Regions from separate parts of the Homo sapiens genome. Here region 1 is linked to region 2. Evidence: promoter capture Hi-C in 16 types of primary human blood cells and fetal thymus (Javierre and others, 2016). All regions are on one chromosome and are shown on one strand. The core of a region is centred on a gene start or on the middle of the fragment in contact, and the rest is flanking DNA. Distances in the headings are between cores, read along the strand shown.

Evidence for each region. Contacts are between HindIII fragments. The CHiCAGO score rates a contact against its expected background, and 5 or more counts as called.
Region 1: a contact is called between the fragment with the promoter of PIGM here and the fragment with the promoter of ATP1A4 in region 2, in 15 of 17 cell types (M0 macrophages, M1 macrophages, erythroblasts and 12 more). The highest score is 12.0, in M0 macrophages.

What each region holds. Positions count from the first base shown.
Region 1 is chr1:160,030,313-160,037,294 of GRCh38, reverse strand. It overlaps PIGM (phosphatidylinositol glycan anchor biosynthesis class M), which reads left to right and starts at 5,305. Exons shown (of 1, transcript NM_145167.3): 1 at 5,305-6,982. The coding sequence starts at 5,556. The coding sequence ends at 6,827. The HindIII fragment of the contact is 5,226 bases long and covers 2,007-6,982 here.
Region 2 is chr1:160,148,835-160,155,528 of GRCh38, reverse strand. It overlaps ATP1A4 (ATPase Na+/K+ transporting subunit alpha 4), which reads right to left and starts at 3,926. Exons shown (of 22, transcript NM_144699.4): 1 at 3,342-3,926; 2 at 2,305-2,364; 3 at 281-484. The coding sequence starts at 3,488. The HindIII fragment of the contact is 4,407 bases long and covers 1,528-5,934 here.

The DNA.
Region 1 (6,982 bases), core at 4,056-6,555, 120 kb after region 2:
TTTCATGGGACAATACTGAAAAAAACTTTAAGACCCAGAAGTATGAAAATTGGCTCAGCTTAATCCATAAAAGTCAAGTTGCTTTGGATCCTGGGCATTGTCCCTTTTGGCCAGTGATCACAAGCCCAATTTCCCTTCCATGCTACCATGTAGTCTTGTTGCCAGTTTTCCTTATATATCCTCAAGGTTCTTTGTAAGCTTATTCCTTTAATCACCAGGCATTTCTTCCCTCAAATCTCAAATAAATGGATTTCTCTTCTACCCTTGTCTGTCAGTAGCCTGAGAAAGGTCTGGTTGTTAATATCCAGGCCTGAATTTTCTCTGATGAGAGGCAAAAGACCCTATGATCGCTGACTCTTGTTCCCCAGAAGTGGAAGGAGAGAGAGAGGAGGAGGGAGAAAATTGGGTCTCTTACCATGATCAATAAATACTTAAGTACAACATTTAGGAAATACTAGGAATGAATCCTAAGACATATGAGACATATAAGATATAGGACATGTATTGTTCCTAAAAGGCCTAAAAGGTTGAAGAAACCTATAAACTTGTTAGAAAACAGAAATAAAACAAGTAGCATATAACAAATATAATGAAAAGCAATAGCAGGTACCATGTACTAATGCCAGATATAACATTAGCAGAATGTTCCAAAAAGAGTGAGATCTCTGTGGGAAACATTTCACAGGGACAGGAACTAGGGAAGGGATGGTATCAATCTAACATGTTTGGTTAGAATACATTAAGGTTCAAGAAAAATCAGCAAACGCTGAGTCCCTATTATGTGGAAGGTATCATTCAGCTGACAAAGAAATATAAGACATGATGCATGAATCAAGGGATGTACAATCATGGCACTTTCCACCTGCTATTCCTTCTGTGGAACTCTCCCCACTGCTTGCCAACTTCCAATTTTCTTGTTTTTTTTTTTTTTGAGACGGAGTCTTGCTCTGTAGCCCAGACTGGAGTGCAGTGGCACGATCTCAGCTTACTGCAACCTCCACCTCTCGGGTTCAAGCGACTCTCCTGCCTCAGCCTCCTGAGTAGCTGGGACTCCAGGCACACGCCAACACGCATGGCTAACTTTTGTAATTTTAGTAGAGACAGGGTTTCACCATATTGGTAAGGCTGGTCTCGAACCCCTGACCTCAGGTGATTCACCCATCTCAGCCTCCCAAAGTGCTGGGATTACAGGCGTGAGCCACTGTGCCTGGCCAACCTTCTTAACTCTTACACTATGCCCATCTGAGATCAAATAAATCCCCTTAAAAGCTAGAGCACTTACCACAGCTGCATTTGTATATTATTTGTCAATTTATTTGACTAATGTCTGTGTAGCTTACTAGACTTCAAGTGTCACATGAATGGGATTCATGTCAAGTGTTTGGTCACGAGTACAGCCCAGCACCTCATATAGTGCCCGACATGTATGATGTTTGATAAATTAGCAGGAGGGAAAGAAAGCAAAGAGAGAAAGAAATGGCCTAAAGTATGCAGTGGAGCTTGTATATCTTGTTAAATAACTATAAAAGAGTTAGATAACGAGCATGACATAATTACTATTAAAAAAGAGAACAGACAATAAACATCACTGTTTTGAGGAGGGAGAGACTATTTCACTTGTTAAGGTCTAGGAAGAGGAGTTGAGAGTTGGGTTCAACATTGAAAAACCAAATAGCATTTAAGTAAGTAAAGAGAAACAGGTCTCTTTGTAGGAAGTACAGCATGAAGAAAGTGTCATGAGAAGAAAGCACAAGGCATATTTTGGGAACAGTAAACCTAAAACAGAGGCATTATAGGTGAATAGGATGGAAAGCTAAGGTAAAGCCAGAAAATAGGGGGACTGAATATCAGGCTAAAGTGTTCATTATTTTTTTCTTTAGGCAGTCAGGAACCACTGAAGATGTTTGATGGAGGAAAGAATCTAAGTAAAGTACTATTAATTAATATCAATCTGGTAGTAGAATTGAGACATAAGACATTAAATCAGTTAAGAGATTTTTAAAGCTTGAGGGAAAGGCAATTGTCACAGATCCTGGTATAGTATAGTATAGGTGTTCGCTACGTATTATTTGAGTTGTTGAAGGTCTGAACTAAGGTGCAGGATGCTGGGCATGGAAAGAATTAGAAATAGATTCCAAAGAAATGACAAAGCAAGACATATGAACAAAATCTAGTGAAAAAGAAAGTGATTAAAGTAGTCAAGGTTCTAGCAGGAAACAGATGGTATACTCAAAGGGCCAGTGGACATGTTTTAATGAAGAAACTATTTGCAAAGGTATGGGCAAGTTTAATAAATCAACAAGATATGGTGATGTACCCAGGCACTCGCAAAGTAGGACGCCTTTACCAGCCTTAAACCTGAAGGGACAGTTACTGGAACCATGAGACTTGTACCCAAAGGAGAGAGCTATAGCTTCAACAGGAGCCATGGCTTTAGGTGAGGAATTCCAGACACTGCCAAAGATCTGCTAGTGCCTCCCACTGGTCTATTCTAATGGGAAGCCAGAGAACAAGGGAGATTGAGTGATGCTACCCATACAGCCTAACCTCTTGGAACACAGAACAGGGCAAAAAAGATGAATAGTGGATATGGAAGGGTAATGAGAGTATATGCAGCATAGTGAACAAGGACAAGGTTCCTGCTAGGGAAACTAAAGTTGAGCGATCCATGTTTGTGCTTTCCTTAGTCATTGGCTCTAAAAGGATAGAAATCTAGGAGCAGATAGTGAAAGGGGGAATTAAGAAGGATTGTAAGTAACAGTCCGAGAGGTAATGAACAGTTGAGCATTTGAAAAAAATGTAACTCTTTCAGAAAGAGGTGAGAAAATACAATCCCTAAACCCAATGCAAAAAGTTCAATATGGGGTCCTCGGACCCTGTGATGTATCTCTTCCACCCAGAAATAGTAACTAAAGTTGGACCTCTCTGTCCAATTTGTTTTACAGATTCCAGTCTCTTCTTCGTTCCCACAACTGCTATCTACATCTCACTCCTTTGACTTCAGTGACATGCTTAGTTTTTTTTTTATTTTATTTTTTTATTAGTTGTTTCCTTATCTGCCTAAATTTGGTGCCTCCCATCTCTCTACTAGGACAGCCATGTAGGGACAGATTGACTGAAACCTTTCTGCTATACTACTGAAACCAATCCAGCCACAAGGACCCTTACTTAGTTAATCCTCAGACACCTACCTCCCATATTTTCTATCTTAGGGAACTAAGCCTCACTTATCTATTATTTGCAGAAGAAAAGAATAAATCAGAGGTAGAAAGAGTCACAGTGAGAGAGAATATCCAGAATATCAAGATGAGAGATCAATAAGAGAAAACATAGGAAAATTAGAATTTGTGATCAACATTTTATTGGCAAGTCAGCCACATAATGATTAAGATATTCTAGGTCAGACAGACTGGGTTTTGAGTTCTAGCACTGTCACTAGTTAGCTATGTGACTTGGGAAAATTACTTAATCTCCATAAGCCTTGGTTTTCTTCATTTGTAAAGGTGGGAATATCTACCTTACATGAAAAGTACTTAGCATAATGCCTGGTACATTGCAAATGAGTCCTCAACAAATCCAGCTATTATAAATAATAGTAATCATCATCATCATAATCATCATTATATGAGTGGTGATGTGCTGCCACTATATATATGGCTAATATACTGCAAAAAAATGGTTAGAATTATCAATCTAAGGCATGTAATGATACCAAGGCATATAAAAGGACATAGAGCTATCACAATATGAATATGGAATATATAAGATTAACACAGTTCATCTCCAAGGGATAAATTGAAGTGTAGGATGGATGAGCAGCAGGTAGTTCTGGGAGCTGCATGTTCAGACTGCATGAAGTCACCTCCTTTTCCTTATTCTAGTCTAGAAGACTTCCCCTAGGAAGCAGGCTTATTCTATAAAATCCAATTAGTCAGTATTTACTAAGCATTTACCATGTGCCTAAGACTACAATAAATTACACATAATTGAAAAAAATTAAGGATAAGATATAATTTCTACCCCCAAGAACCCTATAATCTCTTGTGAGGGCTATGAATACAATCTAAAATAAAGTATCAAATTCTACAATGCGGACTATGTAAGTGCACTAAGTAACCACGGAAAGGGAAGAGCTAATGGGTTACAGTCCTTGGCAAGAAATTCATGGAAGTAGGGTTGGAGTGGGGTGGGGGGAGCAGGGGACCTTGACATACATAAAGGATATTTAAAAGGGAAAATAACTGGGAGTTGGGAGCAATCCAAAGATGCCACTCTAGAAATATTCTGGTAGGAGGAACCTCTAAAATCAATTCAACTTTACTGAATGGCTACTAGTACTGTGTTAGATGTTGAGGTAGAGAAAAGAACAAGATAATCTCTGATACCGAAGAATTGAAAGTGTCCTGATGGAAAACTAGGAGAGCAAAACAAACAAAAACAGTTATTACAAAGCAGTGTGACAAATGCTGTAACAAAGGAATGACCAGGGAGTTCTGGAGCACTGGGAGAACTTTTAGTAGCATGGCAGGGTCTTCTGTGTGAGTGATTTTCTGGAACTTAGATCCCGTCCGCCCCAGTCTACCTATCCTCGGACAGGGGAGGGGACTGGCATCTAAGTCATTCATTCTGCGTGATGAGGAAGTGAGTGGGAGCTGGGAGCTAACACTTGCACTGATGCCTGAAGGGTTGAGTAGGTATTTGCCAGAGTGATTGGAGAGCGGATGGCAACTTTGACAGAAGAAATAGCAAATACAGAGATACTGAGGCATAAGGGGCTGACAAGTTAAGGAATTTTGTGACGCTTTCCTGTCTTCTTTCCCATCACCTTCACCTAGGGTTGCCGGATAAAATACAAGCTGCCCACTTAAATCTGAATCTCTGATTACCAACTAGTAATTTAAAAATATAAGTATGCCTCCAATATTGCATGGAACATACACACTCAGCCCCCTTCAACTCATCCTGTCCTGTCCGGGGCCCACAAATCCCCGGTGAATACCGGCGAGCTAGTGGAGTAAAGCATGAGAAGGCTTATCTTCCTTTCACTCCTACATTTTTCACTCTCGGATCTCCAGCCCAGGACTGAAGGATGTAGCGCGCAGCCCGCAGCTCGCTGCTCGTCGGAGGGTTTTCCTCTGAGGACTGGAAATGGGGCGCGGGAAGAGGGCGGGGGGCGGCGGGCTGTCACTTACAAAGAAATCTCACTCCACTCCATAAAATCCTCAAGCCAGTGCCGGATTTCCCGGCAAGCGGACGTCTCCCCTCCCACGGACCGGAAATCCCGCCTCCGCTGGAAGAAGAAGCGGAAGCGAGACCGTCCATCCAGAGGAAGGCAAGTTTTTGGCTCGGGCGGCTGAGAAGACCGCGCGGGGCTGGAGACAGGTAGCAGTACGGGGGCGGGGCTTCATGCCGGATGTGATAGTCTGCAGTCGTTTCGGTTGGCAGCCTGGCGGGTGGGAGATGCGGCGGCCACCTGCTGCAAAGAACCGAAGGGAAGGTTAGAAGTACGAAGGCAGTTTGGAGCTGGGGCTAAGCAGCTGTCGCACGGTCAGATCATGGGCTCCACCAAGCACTGGGGCGAATGGCTCCTGAACTTGAAGGTGGCTCCAGCCGGCGTCTTTGGTGTGGCCTTTCTAGCCAGAGTCGCCCTGGTTTTCTATGGCGTCTTCCAGGACCGGACCCTGCACGTGAGGTATACGGACATCGACTACCAGGTCTTCACCGACGCCGCGCGCTTCGTCACGGAGGGGCGCTCGCCTTACCTGAGAGCCACGTACCGTTACACCCCGCTGCTGGGTTGGCTCCTCACTCCCAACATCTACCTCAGCGAGCTCTTTGGAAAGTTTCTCTTCATCAGCTGCGACCTCCTCACCGCTTTCCTCTTATACCGCCTGCTGCTGCTGAAGGGGCTGGGGCGCCGCCAGGCTTGTGGCTACTGTGTCTTTTGGCTTCTTAACCCCCTGCCTATGGCAGTATCCAGCCGCGGTAATGCGGACTCTATTGTCGCCTCCCTGGTCCTGATGGTCCTCTACTTGATAAAGAAAAGACTCGTCGCGTGTGCAGCTGTATTCTATGGTTTCGCGGTGCATATGAAGATATATCCAGTGACTTACATCCTTCCCATAACCCTCCACCTGCTTCCAGATCGCGACAATGACAAAAGCCTCCGTCAATTCCGGTACACTTTCCAGGCTTGTTTGTACGAGCTCCTGAAAAGGCTGTGTAATCGGGCTGTGCTGCTGTTTGTAGCAGTTGCTGGACTCACGTTTTTTGCCCTGAGCTTTGGTTTTTACTATGAGTACGGCTGGGAATTTTTGGAACACACCTACTTTTATCACCTGACTAGGCGGGATATCCGTCACAACTTTTCTCCGTACTTCTACATGCTGTATTTGACTGCAGAGAGCAAGTGGAGTTTTTCCCTGGGAATTGCTGCATTCCTGCCACAGCTCATCTTGCTTTCAGCTGTGTCTTTCGCCTATTACAGAGACCTCGTTTTTTGTTGTTTTCTTCATACGTCCATTTTTGTGACTTTTAACAAAGTCTGCACCTCCCAGTACTTTCTTTGGTACCTCTGCTTACTGCCTCTTGTGATGCCACTAGTCAGAATGCCTTGGAAAAGAGCTGTAGTTCTCCTAATGTTATGGTTTATAGGGCAGGCCATGTGGCTGGCTCCTGCCTATGTTCTAGAGTTTCAAGGAAAGAACACCTTTCTGTTTATTTGGTTAGCTGGTTTGTTCTTTCTTCTTATCAATTGTTCCATCCTGATTCAAATTATTTCCCATTACAAAGAAGAACCCCTGACAGAGAGAATCAAATATGACTAGTGTATGTTCCACACCCTCTGCTACTGTGTTACATTCTGATTGTCTTGTATGGACCAGAAGAGAGCTTTGGGACATTTTTTCTGAACATTCTAAGCATTCTAGTGAAAGTTCCCATGTTCCAACAGAACTTAAAAGCAATGTTTGCCTTATATATA
Region 2 (6,694 bases), core at 2,677-5,176:
TATTACATTATTATGTAATGTACATTTATTACATTAATGTACATTTAATTACATTTTATAATTAATTACATTCATTACAATGTAATTAATCAATTACATTGTAATTAATTACAATCAATTACATTTATAATTAATGTACATTTATTACATTATTACATTAATGTAATAATGTAATTAGGGATTTGGGCCAGAGGACTTCAGGAGTGCTAGGCTGCTGAGCAAAAGAGTGTCTGGGGCTAAGCAGAGATAGGGCTGGCTAGTAGTAGCTGAAGAGACTCACGTTGTCTTTGGTAGGCTCCTCATTGAAATATATCTGGATGCTGTAGGCCACAAAGCAGAGAATGGCCCCAGTCCATAGTAGGAGGGAGAAGCCTCCGAACAGTTGCTTACAGAATTTGACCCATTCTGGAGTGGTGGGGGGTGGGGTAACAGTATTGGGTCCACCTCGAGTCAGGATTTCCTTTGCCCTTTGGTGGCTATGGCCCTGTGCAGAGAAGAAATAGGGTTGGATAGAGAGCTGTGAAAAGAGGAACAGCCATAGCAAAAGGGAACCTGACATTTGGAGCCCCAGAATGGGTCTAGAGACTAAAGACGCTTTCAGAAGGTCAGTCTGGAAGTTCTTCCTGGATAAGGTGAGGTTTCAAAATTTGCATTAGAGGAGGGATGTCATTTAGCATGCTTACATAGGAAGGTTTTTGTTTATGGATTGATTCACAAACCTTTTTGAACTTGAGAACCTATCTCGGGTCCTAGGTGCTGAGGATACCAACATGAATAAGAATGGTCCCTACCCTTAAGGTGCTCCAGTGGGGAGATAAATACATACAGATAATTATAATGTGCAGGGCCAATGTCATGATGAAATATAATACTTAATGTTGATAACATATTAACACCACGCTTTGACTCTCCAACTTAGAGGGAATAAGATCTAGTGTTTGGTAGCACAATAGGGCAACTATAGTTAATAATTTATTATGGATATCAAAATAATTAGAGGAGTGGATTTGGAATGTTCCCATGCAAAGAAATGATAAATGTTTGAGGTTATGGGTATCCTAAATACCCTGATTTGATCATTACACATTGTATGCTTATATCAGAATAATACATGTATACCATAAATATGTACATCTACATATCCATTTTTTTTTTTGAGACAGAGTCTTGCTCTGTCACCTAGGCTGGAGTGCAGTGGCATGATCTCGGCTTACTGCAACCTCCATCTCCCAGGTTCAAGTGATTCTCCTGCATTCAAGTGATTCTCCTGCCTCAGCCTCCCAAGTAGCTGAGATTGCAGATGTGTGCCACTATGCCAGGATAATTTTTGTATTTTTAATACAGATGGGGTTTCACCATGTTGGCCAGGCTGGTCTCCAACTACTGACCTCAAGTGATCTGCCTGCCTTGGATTACAGGTGTGAGCCACGGCACCTGGCCCATAAATTTTTAAAAAACATAAATAGAAAAGAATACTAACAAAAAACATGAATGCATAGATTCTCATTCCACTCTTGTGCACAAGCTTATGTGCTTTTTCCTGTTAATGAAAATGATAGTAGAACCTGCCAATCACCACCAGCCACTCCCCAACCTCTGCCTGAAACACCCGAGGGGCCCCAAAACCCTTTCAGGGGGTCCACAAGGTCAATTTTCATAGTAATACTAAATCATTGTTTGCCTTTTTTTACTCTCATTTTCTTAAGAGTATATAGTGGAATTTTCTGAAGGCCAACTGGCATAACATCACAACAGATTTTATCCAGAAAATATTTGAGAATCCAGCTATCTTCTATTAAAAAGCAAGACATTGAAGAGGTTTGCAAAAATGTAAGATGCTGCTAATTTTTTTGTTTTGAAAAATACAGTTATTTGTCAAAACATATATGAATATATGATAACTTTATTTTTGTTATTTTTAAATGAATTGAGAAATACATTTTAAAACTCTCAATTTTAATTTCTAATATGGTAAATATAGACAGACTTAAGCCACATAAGCACAAGTTCTTTGCGGTCCTAGATAAATTCTAAGAGTGTAAAGGAGACCTAAGGACAAGACGTTTGACCAGCACTGCCCTAAAGCATTCTTATTCTCTTATCTAGTCCCACACTCTCTTTGAGGGTAGTTACCATTTGCAGCTTTTTCCAGGTAGTGTCCATGGAACGTGGCCAGGCAGAGGGTGAGGGGTGGGAACGTTGGACTTGAAGTTAGGGGGCTGGATTCCTAGTTCAGCTTTTGTCCTGGCAGCCTCACAGTCAGAGTTGGAGACTCTCTGCCTCCTCAGGGAGCTTCTTACTCACCTTTGTCAGGTCCACGGAGTACTTGGTGCTCAGCTCTTCCAAGGTTAATTTGTGATCATCCTGAGGGGACAGTAGAGGCATTGAGGGACAGGGGGTGGCCCAGGTCATTTCCAGGGAGAGGGGGAGAAACAGACTGGAGAATGTTAGTCCAAACTGAGACTGCTCCATTTTGTAAGCTCCCTGCAATTCTTTTTTTGAGATGGAGTCACTCTGTTGCCCAGGCTGGTGTACAGTGGTGCGATTTCGACTCACTGCAACCTCTGCCTCCCAACAGGTGTTTCTCCTGCCTCAGCCTCCCAAGCAGCTGGGATTACAGGGGCCCATCACCAGGACCAGCTAATTTTTGTATTTTTAGAGGCGGGGTTTCACCATGTTGGCCAGGCTTGTCTCAAACTCCTGACCTCAGGTGATCTGCCTGCCTCAGCCTCCCAAAGTGCTGGGATTACAGGTGTGAGCCACCACGCCCGGCCTAGCTCCCCACTATTTTACAGGCCTTGGTCAAAGTGAAACATTTCACGGGGGTTCGGGCCAGAGAAACAGCCTGCCTAACCACCTGACCACAGGGCAGACGAAGGCCCAATTAAAGACAAAGACCCCACTAAAGAAACATCCCTATCACATCCTGCTGGGCAAAGGTCCAGGGAATACCATGATTATATTCTGTGGAAACAAGGGCCAAAAATCACCTCATCATGAGAACATCTTATCGATATCCTGCCAGGCAGCAGGCCATACAGCCCAGACTCCTCCCATCCATCCCTATAAGTACCCAGCCTGTAAGTGGCAGTGGACTGTGGAATTAAGCTGATCCCCCACTTCCACAGGTGTCTGCAATATACCTGTGCTTGCTGTTGAGCTGCCCTGTCTCTCTGTGTGTATCTTTTTTTTTTTTTTTAACCCTCTCCTTCCCTCCAAAGCCTAACAGAGAAGAGATGTGGCTCTGGCCTGTGTGTTTCATTCTCAAGGTAAGATGTTAAAGATAGGTGGAGGAGTGTTTTCAGAGGGCAGCTGTCAGCGCCCACTTTGGGTGGCCTCACCATGACCACTTCCTTCTTCAGTTCCTCCATATTGCGCTTCTGTTTTTCCCTCTTCACCATTTTTTTCTTGATAAGCCCTTTTTTAGGTCTTCGTCTTGGACTCTGGTCATGGGGAGCCACTGTCCCTTTCTTCCCCCAAAGCCCCATAGCTATCCCCAGAAAGAGCTGCCCGAGCTCAACTGTGGGAAGAAAGCTGAGAGAGTGAGGCAAGGGGAAGGGAAGAGGGCGCGCGGGCAAGGGGGCCACGAGAAGAGAGTGGTGGGGAGAGAATGAGGGAGCAGAAAGAAAGAGGCAGGGAGGGAGGTGTTGGGTGGTGAAGGTGAGAGAGAGGAAGGGAAGTGAGAGAGGAGAGACTGAGCGGTCCTCCAGCCGTCCGCTGGGAAGAGGAAGAGTCAGGAGTGAGGGAAGAGGGAGGAGAGAAGCCTAGGGTGGAAGGATAAAAAGGTAGAGGTGAGGGAATGCAGTGAGGGCAGGAAACAAGAGGTGAAGCGTAACCAGGTGCCTCAGTGATGAAGATGCCGCAAGGCCCACAGGAAGGTGGGAAATGCAGTGAGAGTGAGGAGGCGGAGTGAGCTTCAAGGATCTGGGAACCCCCCAGTCCCAGGCCCTGTGGTTGCTGGGGCAATGACCCAGGTCTGGCATCACAAAGGCCTCCTGAAAGTTCTAACCAAGAATCCAGAAGTCTTGCCTTGGCGATGGTCCAGGTCTGCTGTCGCAAAGGCCTCATGAAGGTTTTAACCAAGAACCTAGAAGTCTCAGTCTTTGGGTTTGAGGACGATTGGAGCAGGCCCTGCTACAGAAAGAGTTTCAGTCTGAGGGCAGAACTAGAACAAAGTTCTTGTGTGGTCCTGCAGACTTTGGAGGCTTAGAGGTATGCCAAATAGATGACTCAAAAATAAAGCGGGTATTCGGCCGGGCGCGGTGGCTCATGCCTGTAATCCCAGCACTTTGGGAGGCTGAGATCGAGACCTTCGTGGCCAGTATGGTGAAACCCCATCTCTACTAAAAATACAAAATTTAGCCAGGTGTGGTGGTGGGCACCTGTAATCCCAGCTGCTCGGGAGGCTGAGGCAGGAGAAACATCTGAATCCAGAAGGCAGAGGTTGCAGTGAATTGAGATTGCATCACTGCACTCCAGCCTCGGTGACAGAGTGACTCCATCTCAGACAAACAAACAAACAAACAAACAAACAAACAAACAAACAAAAAACCATAGCAGGGAGCTTACAAAATGGTGCAGTTGCAGTTTGGACTAATATTCTCCCGTCTGTTTTTGAGACTCCATCTCAAAAAAAAAAAAAAAGCAGGTACTCTGTGTGTGTTTTTTAGCAAGGCACACTTTTCCACTAACATTGGGTTTGATCTTTTAATTTTAGGAGATCAGCTAGCAGAATAGATCAGATCTTGGGCTCTGGAACCAGTCCTGGATTTCAATCCCAACTCCTCCACTTGTCAGCTGTGTGGCTTTGAGCAAGTTACCTAACCTCTGTACCTCTCTTTTCTTATTTTTAAAAGAGGATACCTTCTACCTTAAGTGAGGTGCTCTACAAAAAGCACTATGTGACATATATAGTATGTGCTCAATAGGTAGCTTGAATTCAGTAGTAGTTTTATTTGTGGATTAATATGCAGCTCTTCTCAGTGAGGGTAAAAATATGCTTTTCCATGTGATAGCGTTGCATTTTCTCATTTTAAAATGATGTACTTACCTCTTCCATTGACCTTCTCTGGTGTCTCAGTAAGTGCTTTGACTATATTAACTGTATATATGTTTTGCATGTCCATAGGATTCTACCTCCTTCCAAGAATAATCTGAAGCATCTATACTTTTCTGTCAACCATTATATATATTTTTCAATTATGCACGTCACATAGATTTTCCCATTCTGTTGTTTGATATTTGTTTATTTACTTTTTGAGACAGGATCTCACTTTGTTGCCCAGGCTGGAGTGTAATGGTGCGATTATGGCTTACTCCAGCCTCAACCTCCCAGGTCCAAGTGATCCTCCCACCTCAGCCTCCCAAGTAGCTGGGACCACAGGCATGTGCCACCATGCCCGGCTAATTTTTTTTATTTTATTTTAGTAAAGACGGGGTGCCCCTGTGTTGCCCAGGCTGGTCTCAAACTCCTGGGCTCAAGCAATCCTTGGCCTTGGCCTCCTAAAATGTTGGGATTACATAAGTGAGACACCAAGCCTGGCCTGATATTTATTTAATTGCATTTTGGTTGGGCATGCTTTTTAAAAATATGACTGTATCTGGAAACATTCATCTTGGTGCTGATGCAATCCTCCTTGAATATTCAGAAATAGAAATGCTCCCTTCCCAGCTGGGATAAATGATCGTCTATTTCTTTAACAGATTGGATTTTTCTTCTCTATTAAAAATGTTTAAGATAAAAATTGAAAGCCCCACCTTCCCTCCCTCCAAACTCAGATTCTCCCCACTGCTGAAGTTACTGCTGGTAACAATGTGCTGCATGTCCTTCCAGTCTTTTTTCTATGTTTATACAAATAGATATCTAAAAGGAGGTATTTTTCAACTTTTAAACAATCATTCAACTCTCTACCAACCTGTCATGTACATAAAGCTTCTTTTTTTCAGTGCTGTGAGGCTTCCATATTCTGTATTGACCATGCTCTATTCAATCATTCCCATTACTGATGGATTTATGAGATATTTTCCATTTTTTTAACCATTAATAAAATTGCTAGAGTGTCATTCTTGCACATAGATATCATCAGGCCCTTGAGCTTCTATTTCTGTAGAATCAGTTCCTGTTGCTGAATCATAGAGTACACTCATTAACAATCTTAAAAGATTCTGCCAATTGGTCTTTAAAAGTGTTTATCTATCTGCATCCCAACAACAGGATGCAAGAATGTCTGCCTTCCACACCTTTGATTATGCTAGATGACCTTGATTTTTACTATTATAATCAGTGAACTTTGATATCTTGTAGTTTTAATTTGCATTTTTAAATTGTCAATGTGAGCATTTTCTCTTATGTTTACTGGCTTTCTGGTTTTCTTTCTTTCTTTCATTTCTTCTTTTCTTTCTTTCTCTCTTTCCTTTCTTCCTTCCTTTCTTTCTCTCTTTCTTTCTTTTGACAGGCTGGAGTGCAGCGGTGCAATCTCAGCTCACTGCAACCTCCACCACCTGTGTTCAAGCGATTCTCGTGCCTCAGCCTTCTAAGTAGCTGAGACTACAGGCACACGCCACCATACCCAGCTGATTTTTTTGTATTTTTTAGTAGAGATGGGGTTTTGCCATGTTGGCCAGGCTGATCTTGAACTCCTGACCTTGGGTGATCCGCCTGCCTGGGCATCCCAAAGTGCTGGGATTACAGGCA